Regions from separate parts of the Homo sapiens genome. Here region 2 is linked to region 1. The links are contacts of gene promoters, found by promoter capture Hi-C in blood cells and fetal thymus (Javierre and others, 2016). All regions are on one chromosome and are shown on one strand. The core of a region is centred on a gene start or on the middle of the fragment in contact, and the rest is flanking DNA. Distances in the headings are between cores, read along the strand shown.

Evidence for each region. The method cuts DNA at HindIII sites, captures the fragments that hold promoters and counts their contacts. A CHiCAGO score of 5 or more calls a contact.
Region 2: a fragment that was not itself captured here is called in contact with the fragment with the promoter of TMEM270 in region 1 in 1 of 17 cell types (M2 macrophages); the score reaches 5.8 in M2 macrophages.

The regions. Positions count from the first base shown.
Region 1 is chr7:73,858,658-73,863,195 of GRCh38, forward strand. TMEM270 (transmembrane protein 270) reads left to right here and starts at 2,502. Exons shown (of 3, transcript NM_182504.4): 1 at 2,502-2,609. The coding sequence starts at 2,538. The HindIII fragment of the contact is 5,367 bases long and covers 2,336-4,538 here.
Region 2 is chr7:73,953,048-73,957,585 of GRCh38, forward strand. No RefSeq gene overlaps it. Among named protein-coding and RNA genes, the nearest start is that of ELN, 73 kb to the right of the region's middle. The HindIII fragment of the contact is 6,290 bases long and covers 1-4,538 here.

The DNA of each region.
Region 1 (4,538 bases), core at 1,252-3,751:
GCTGAGGCAGGAGAATTGCTTGAACCCGGGAAGTGGAGGTTGCAGTGAGCCGAGATTGTACCACTGCACTGGGTGACAGAGCAAGACTCCATCTCAAAAAAAAAAAAAAAAAAAAAAAAAGAAAAGAAAAGATTTGGGTTCCCTAAACTCAAGCCACCTCTCCTGTAACACACCCACCTCAGATACTGCCAGGCATCATCTGGCCCTTGTCATATCACCCTGTGGGATTTGGAGCTCAAGGAATGAATGGAAAATGCTTATAACCTAGTTCACTGCTATTGCCATGAGTAACATTGTCTTTGATCTCTGACCTGGGAGTCTCATGTCTTCCTGTGGCAGCTGTGGAGCTCTGGTTGGCTAACTTGTTAGCATGAAATTGGGCAACGTCTCAGATCATCGTGGGTCTTGACATCCTCCAATTCTATCTGTTGTACCTGCTACAGATTTCTGGCATCTGTTGTCTCCATTTCCAGGGCCTCAGCCCTGGTCAAGGCTCCCATCATCACATGTCTAGGGGTTTATTTGTTCTGGATTCCTTTTTGCTGTCCCTACCCCAGAGTCCTCTGCCTTAGTTTCCATGCACACTGCTTGAGCCGCCTGCTGCAAGACCCCCACCCGACCATCTGCTGGAGGGCTTTCTCTGGTGTTTGTGCTGGTAAGATTGGAGGTTCAGCGGGAGTTAATGTCCAACAGGAAGCAGACAGGTCATGGAAGATAAATACCCCAGTATTCATGCTCCTTGGGTGGGGTGACTCTGAGGTGCGTTCTGCACCATTTTCCAGGGGATTTTGGGGATCAGCCCCGGTTGTCTGAACTCAAACCCTGCTCATGAACTCATCTGTCCTTGCCTCTCTTTCTTTTCTTTCTCTTTCTTTTCTTTCCTTCCTTCCTTTTTCTTTCTTTCTTTCTTTTTCTTTCTCTCTTTTTCTTTCTTTTCTTTCTCTTTCTTTCTTTCCTTCTTTTTCTTTCTCTTTCTTTCTTTTTCTTTCTTTCTTCTTTCTTTCTTTCTCTCTCTCTCTCTCTCCCCCTCCCCTCCCCTCCCCTCCCCTTCCCTCTTTTTATCACAGAGTCTCACTCTCTTGCCCAGGCTGGAGTACAGTGGCATGATCTCAGCTCACTGCAACCTCTGCCTTCTGGGTTCAAGCAATTCTCCTGCCTCAGCCTCCTGAGCAGCTGAGATTATAGGTGCACGCCACCATGCCAGGCCAATTTTTTTTTTTTTTTGTATTTTTAGTAGAGACGGGGTTTCACCATGTTGGTCAGGCTGGTCTCTGCTGAGACCAGCTTGGCTGGGGAGACCCTAACCCAGCAGCACTAGAGGAATTAAACACACACACACACACACACACACACACACACACACACAGAGAAATAAAGAGGTGTGAAGTGGGAAATCAGGGGGTCTCACAGCCTTCAGAGCTGAGAGCCTCAAACGGAGATTTACCCACGTATTTATTAACAGCAAGCCAGTCATTAGCATTGTTTCTATAGATATTAGATTAACTATAGATTAGATTAGATTCCCATAGAAGTATCCCTTATGGGAAACAAAGGGATTGGGCCCAAATAAAGGGATGTGTTTGGCTAGTTATCTGCAGCAGGAGCATGTCCTTAAGGCACAGATCACTCATGCTCTTGTTTGTGGTTTAAGAACGCCTTTAAGCAGTTTTCCGCCCTGGGTGGGCCAGGTGTTCCTTGCCCTCATTCCGGTAAACCCACAACCTTCCACCGTGGGTGTCATGGCCATCACGAACATGTCACAGTGCTGCAGAGATTTTGTTTATGGCCAGTTTTGGGGCCAGTTTATGGCCAGATTTTGGGGGCCTGTTCCCAACAGGTCTCAAACTCCTGACCTCGTGATCTGCCTGCCTCGGCCTTCCAAAGTGCTGGGATTACAGGTGTGAGCCACTGTGCCTGGCCCCTTGCCTCACTTTCTGACTTCCTATGGATGCTTGCAGGGCCCACTCCCCAAATAAACTCATCACCCTTCAATTTTTTTTCTTTGTTTAGAGATAGGGTCTTGCTCTGTCACCCAGGCTTGAGTGATCCTGGCTCACTGCAACTTCTATCTCCTGGGCTCAAGCGATTCTCCCACTTTAGACTCCTGAGTAGTTGGGACTACAGGTGTGCATGACCAAGGCTGGTTAATTTTTTTCTTTTTTTGTTTTTTTGTAAGACAGGGTCTTGCTATGTTGCCCATGCTGGTCTCAAACTCCTGGCCTCAAGCGATCCTCCTACCTTGGCCTCCCAAAGCATTGGGAATCCAGGCATGAACCCCGTTCCTAGGCGGCACTTGATTCCTGTTCCAAGATCTGGGGAAATCCGACCCGAAGGAAGCTTTGCTCTAAGACCTCCTTGGCCGTGTTGGGCTCAGACGTGGACTGAGGTTTCAGAGGAAGCAGTGGAGCGGCAGGAGCCAGGTAAAGGCAGTGGGTCACTGGCGGCAACCGGGTCCCCATGGTAACTTGGTCCCCACCCTGTGGCATCTGTGAGGTCACCCTGCTTCTCCCAGCTGGAGTAGGTGGGGGAGGCCAGACATGGAGGCCCTTCCTCCAGTCAGATCCAGCCTTTTGGGGATCCTGTTGCAGGTTACGAGGCTCTCAGTGCTGGTGAGTGGGGGCTGGGGGTAAGTGGGGTGGGGACCACACACCAGGCCCTTCACAGAGCCACCTCAGAGCTGCCGGGCCCAAGCCCTGCCTGTCCCATCCAGTGGAACGAGGTGGCTGCCTGCCTTCCAGAATAATCTGACATCTCCCAGAAGCCCCACTCCAAACTACAGTGCTGACATTTTCTTTTCTTTTCTTTATTTAGAGACAGGGTCTCGCTCTGTCGCCCAGCCTGGAGCGCAGTGGTGCCGGCTCAGCTCGTTGCAGCCTCCAACTCCCGGTCTCAAGCAATCCTCCCCCCTCAGCCTCCAAGTAGCCGGGACTATAGGTGTGCACCACCACGCCTGACTAATTTTTGTATTTTGTAGAGATGGTGTCTCACTACGTTGCCCAGGCGGGTCTCCAACTCTTGGCCTCACATGATCCTCCTACCTCAGCTTCCTGAGGTGCTGGGATTATAGGTGTGAGCCACCGCACCTGGCAGCATTTTCTCTATTGAGGGTCACTCCTATGGGTGAATCATTGTTTTTCCCATTCATTTTTTCTTTTTTTTGAGACAGAGTCTCGCTCTGTTGCCCAGGCTGGAGTGCAGTGGTGCGATCTCGGCTCACTGCAACCTCTGCCTCCTGGGTTCAAGCAGTTCTTCTGCCTCAGCCTCCCAAGTAGCTGGGACTACAGGCACGTGCCATCATCCCTGGCTAATTTTTTTTTTTTTTTGTATTTTTAGTAGAGACCCTGTTAGCCAGGATGGTCTCGATCTCCTGACCTTGTGATCTGCCCGCCTCAGCTCCCCAAAGTGCTGGGATTACAGACATAAGCCACTGCGCCTGGCTCATTCATCTCTCTCTCTTTTTTTTTTTTTCAGATGCAGTCTTGCCCTGTCGCGCAGGCTGCAGTGTAATGGTGCGATCTCGGCTCACTGCAACTTCCACCTCCAGGTTCAAGCAATTCTCCTGCCTCAGCCTTCCAAGTAGCTGGGATTACAGGCGTGCGCCACCACGCCCAGCTAATTTTTTGTATCTTTAGTAGAGACAGGGTTTCACCGCATTGGCCAGGCTGGTCTCAAACTCCTGACCTCGTAATCCACCCACCTCGGCCTCCCAAAGTTCTGGGATTACAGGTGTGAGCCACCGCACCTGGCCCATTCATCTCTTTTAAACATACACATGCTTGTGGTCGGGGTCACAACTCAGTCACACTTAGGAGGCCGAGGTGGGAGTATAGATTGAGCCTGGGAGGCCAAGGCTGCAGTCAGCCAAGATCATATAACAGGGGGCAGTTGAGAAAGACAGACACCATTAGATTTGCATCTTGGGACCGGGAGCTGTGGCTCACACCTGTAATCCCAGCACTTTGGGAGGCCGAGGCGGGCAGATCACCTGAGGTCAGGAGTTCCAGACCAGCCTGACTAACATGAAGAAACCTTGTCTCTACTAAAAATACAAAATTAGCCACGCGTGGTGGTGCATGCCTGTAATCCCAGCTACTCAAGAGGCTGAGGCAGGAGAATCGCTTGAACCTGGGAGGCGGAGGTTGCGGTGAGCCGAGATCCCACCATTGCACTCCAGCCTGGGCAACCCTGGGCAACAAGAGCAAAACCCTGTCTCAGAAAAAAAAAAAAAAAAAAAAAAAAAAAGATTTGCATCTTGGCTGTTTTACCCTCTAGCTGTGTGAATTTGGGCAAATCACTTCACCACTCTGAGCCCGTTTCCTCTCCTATAGAAATGATCTTGTGGGATCATGTGGGATATCATAGGTTTCCCTCCTCCCTGGTCTCAGCACCATAACCTGGGAGGTCCTATTTCCTAGCTCTACCCTAATTCTTCTCCCTGCTGGACCCTTTGGTCTCAGCATAGCTCCACCCTCCACGTCCCAAGCTCTGCAAATCCAGCCCGTGAGTGGGGGGTCTTGCAGCCAATCTCAGATGGTGGG
Region 2 (4,538 bases), core at 1,483-3,982, 95 kb after region 1:
AAGTGCTGGGATTACAAATGTGAGCCATCAAATAACGTTTTAAAACCTGTTTTCAAGTCTACTAGCTCTTTCTTCAGTCATACACATTGTGCTACTGAACTCATTGAGTTAATTGTAAAACTCGATGATTGTATATTTTCAGTTCTAAAATTTCTATTTAGTTCTTTTTTGTATCTTCTATTTTCCTGTTGAGGGTTTCTATCTTTCTCCTCATTTAAAAAATATTTTCCCTTAGAAAAGTAGTTAAATAGGCCAGGCATGGTGGCTCATGCCTGTAATCCCAGTACTTTGAGAGGCTGAGGGGGGCGGATCACCTGAGGTCAGGAGTTTGAGGTCAGCCTGGCCAACATGGTAAAACCCCGTCTCTACTAAAAATACAAAAAAAAAATTAGCCAGACATGGTGGTGCACACCTGTAATCCTAGCTATTCAGGAGGCTGAGGTGGGAGGATTGCTTGAACTCAGGAGGCAGGGGTTGCAGTGAGCCAAGATCGCGCCACTGCACACTCCAGCCTGGGTGACAGAGAAAGACTCTGTCTCAAAAAAAAAAAAAAGAAAAAAAGAAAAATAGTTAAATAGCTACTTTAAAATCCTGGTTTGATAATTCCAACATCTGTGCCATCTTGTGGTTGGCATCTGTTAATTATCTTTTTCCATGTAAGATGTTTAGATTTTCCTAGTTCTTTATATATTGGATAATTTTGAATTGTGCTTTGGATGTCTCAAACATATTGTTATGTGGTTCTGAGTCTTGCTTAAATGCTATGGAGAAGTTTAATTTAAAAAAAAAAAGACAATGAATTTGGTTAGGTTCAAGCTGCAACTTCCTACCTGCACTCTGTGAGCTGTTGTTACAATGTCAGTTTACTTCCCAAATACTTTGCAGTACTATTCAGATATGTCCTGAGTAAAAAAAAAAAAAAAAAAAAAAAGTCTTTTTAAAAAGATGAGCAAATCTCTTTTTTTTACCATGCAGTGGCCAGCCTGGAACCTGGGGAGTGGTCCGTCCTGTAATTTCTTTCTGAAAGCCTGTGCTGTTTAGGGTCAAATGCACACACACACAGCTCAGGGGTGAGCAGAGGAGTTTATATAAATTGTTTATCAAATTGTCATCTCTAGCTCCCTCTTCTCATCAATTTCACTGACACTTTTCAGCCCCCAAGGGCCCCTCCGTAGTCCTCTATAAAGCCAGGGCTTCAGTTTCTCTGCTCTGCCACATACTTCTTATGACTGTGTCTTTCTGCAGTGCCAAGTGGCAAGAGCATAGAGAGAAAGACAGCAACAGGAACCCCTCCAGCAGTCTTGGGCCACAGACTCTTGAGAGAAGTGTTCCCTCTCAAAACATTTGGTGGCTCTCCAACTGCTTTTGCCTGTCTCACCGTGTCATGGGATTGCCTGGAAGCTGGGGCAGCAGGGAATGGCAATTAACACCGAAAACCAACCAACCAACAAAAACAACATCACAAAACACAAACTGGGGCTGTCTCCATTCTTCCTGATCTTCAGGGGACCCTGAACCACCAATAGAGAGCTTCTCTTAGAGCTCTTTCTGTCTGTACCTGGTTTACCATCTTAGCCTCCTGAGTGGTTGGGAACCACAGGTGCACGCCACCAAGCCCAGCTAATTTTTATATATATTTTGTAGAGATGGGGTCTTGCTGTGTTGCCTAGGTTGGTCTCAAACTCCTGGCCTCAAGAACCTCGGCTTCCCAAAGTGCTGGGATTACAGGCATGAGCCACCATGCCTGGCCAAAATTTTAATTTTTTATGTAAATCTTTCTGATAAAAATTTCAGGTCCGATGGCTCAACTGGTAAATCCTATCAAATAATTAAGGAGGGAGTAATACGAATCCCACCAAAACTTTTAGAAAACATAGAAGAGAACACTTCCTAAGTAATTTTATCAGGCCAGTGTTAACTCTGATACCAAAACCAAACACCTAACAAATAGACCAGGAGTCAGCAAACCATGGCTTGTGGGGCCAAACCAGACTACGATCTGTTTCTGTAAATAAAGTTTTATTGAAACACAGCCACAATTATTAAAGTACATACTGTCTCTTCCTATTTTCCTATTACAGTGGTTGAGTAGTTATAGCAGAAATTATATGACCTGCAAAGCCTCAAATATTTACTGACTCTTTACAGAACAAGGTCTGCTGGTCCCTGATATGGACCAGCAGCCTTCATGGAAAAAGATGCAAAAATGCTTTAGAAAGATTAGCAAGTCAAACCCAATAAATAAAAGAGATAAAATATCAAGGTCAAGTGAAATGTATTCCAGAAATACAATGTTGCTTTAACAAAGAAAACAAAAATAAGCCAATGTAACGCAATATATTAGCAGAAGAAAGGTTTAAAATGCATGATCATCTCAATAGTTGCAGAAAAGAAGCATTTGATAACATTCAGAATCCATTCATTATTATAATTTTTTTTTGAGAGAGAGAGAGTCTTGCTCCATTGCCCAGGCTGGAGAGCAGTGGTGTGATCTCGGCTCCCTGAAACCTCCACCTCCCAGGCGCAAGCAATTCTCGTGCCTCAGCCACTCCAGTAGCTAGGACTACAGGAAGGCGCCACCATGCCCAACTAATTTTTGTATTTTTAGTAGAGATGGGGTTTTGCCATGTTGGCCAGGCTGGTCTCGAACTCCTGGCCTCAAGTGATCCACTCCTCAGCCTCCCAAAGTGCTAGGATTATAGGCATGAGCCACCGTGCATGCCCCATTGATAATTAAAAAAAGAAAAAAAAAAGAATTCAGCAAACTAAATATAAAAGGGGACTGTCTCAACGGCAAAAAATATAGCTACAAAAACTTAAAGCTAATGTCTTAATGGGTAAAGTATGAATGATTTCTCTCTAAGATTAGAAACAAGGCAAACATGTCCACTCTCGCTGTTTGCATTTAGCATGGTACTGGAGGTTCTAGCTTGTGCAATAATAAAAGAAGAAAAAATAAAAGGCATACCAATTGGAAAGGAGGAAGAAACACTGTCCTTATTGCAGACAACATGATCATCTATGTAGAAAATCCTAGGAAATAGGAAATAAGCTACTAGAACTAATAAGTTAGCAGAACAAAGTGTCAATTGAATTTCCATATGCTAGCTCAAACAGTGGGAACTGAAATTTTAAAAAGAAAGTCATTATTATTATTATTATTATTATTATTATTATTATTATTATTATTTGTCTCCCAGGCTGGAGTGCAGTGGCACAATCTCAGCTCACTGCAAACTCCACCTCCCGGGTTCAAGTGATTCTCCTGCCTCAGCCTCCCGAATAGCTAGGATTATAGGCATGCCTCACCACGCGTGGCTAATTTTTGTATATTTAGTAGGGATGAGGTTTCACCAGGTTGGCCAGGCTGCTCTTGAACTCACAAGCTCAAGTGATCCGCTGGCCTCGGCCTCCCAAAGTGCTGGGATTACAGGTGTGAGCCACCAAGCCCGGCCTAAATCCCACCCCCTTTGCTCTGGCTCTTGATCTCATTGTATCAATCTCTGCTTCCATTATCACATCTCTTTTTTCTGACTCTGACCCTCTTGCCTCCCCGCTTACGAGAAACTTTGCAATGGGACCTATCCAGATAATCCAGGATAATTTCTCCACCTCAAGATCCTTAATTTAGGCTGGGTACAGTGGCTCATGCCTGTAATCCCAGCATTTTGGGAGGTTGAGGCGGGCGGATCTTTTGAGTTCGGCAGTTTGAGACCAGCCTGGCCAACATGGTAAAACCCCATCTCTACTAAAAACACAAAATTAGGTGGTTTGTCTTTTCATTTTCTGGGTGCTTTGAAACAAAGTTTTTGGCCAGGTGGGGTGGCTTATGCCTGTAATCCCAGTGCTTTGGTAGGCTGAGGTGGGAGGATCACTTTGAGGTCAGTAGTTCAAGACCAGCCTGGAAAATATAATGAGACCCGCCCCCTGCTCCCCATCTTTACAAAAAATCAAAAAAATTACCTGGGCATGGTAGCACATGCCTATATGCCTGATGATGTGCCAGCTAGGCAGGAAGATCACTTGAGCCCAGGAGTTCAAGGTGCAGGGAGCCATGATCACTTCACTGCACTTCATCCTGGGCAACAGAATAGGACCTTGTCTCAGGGGCTGGGCGCAGCGGCTCACGCCTGTAATCCCAGCACTTTGGGAGGCTGAGGTGGACGGGTCACGAGGTCAGGAGTTCCAGACCAGCCTGGCCAACATGGTGAAACACCGTCTTTACTAAAAATACAAAAATTAGCCTGGCATGGTGGTGCGTGCCTGTGATCCCAGCTGCTCGGGAGGCTGAGGCAGGAGAATCACTTGAACCTGGGAGGCTGAGGTTGCAGTGAGCTGAGATTGCGCCATTGCACCCCAGCCTGGGTGACATGGGTGACAGAGCAAGACTCCATCTCAAAAAAAAAAAAAAAAAAAAAAAACAAGAACAGAAACCCTGTCCTTACAAAAAAGGAACAAAGAAAAAAAAGAATACAAAGTTTTAAATTTTGATGAACTCCAATTTATGAATTTTTTCTTTTATTACTTGTGCTTTAGGT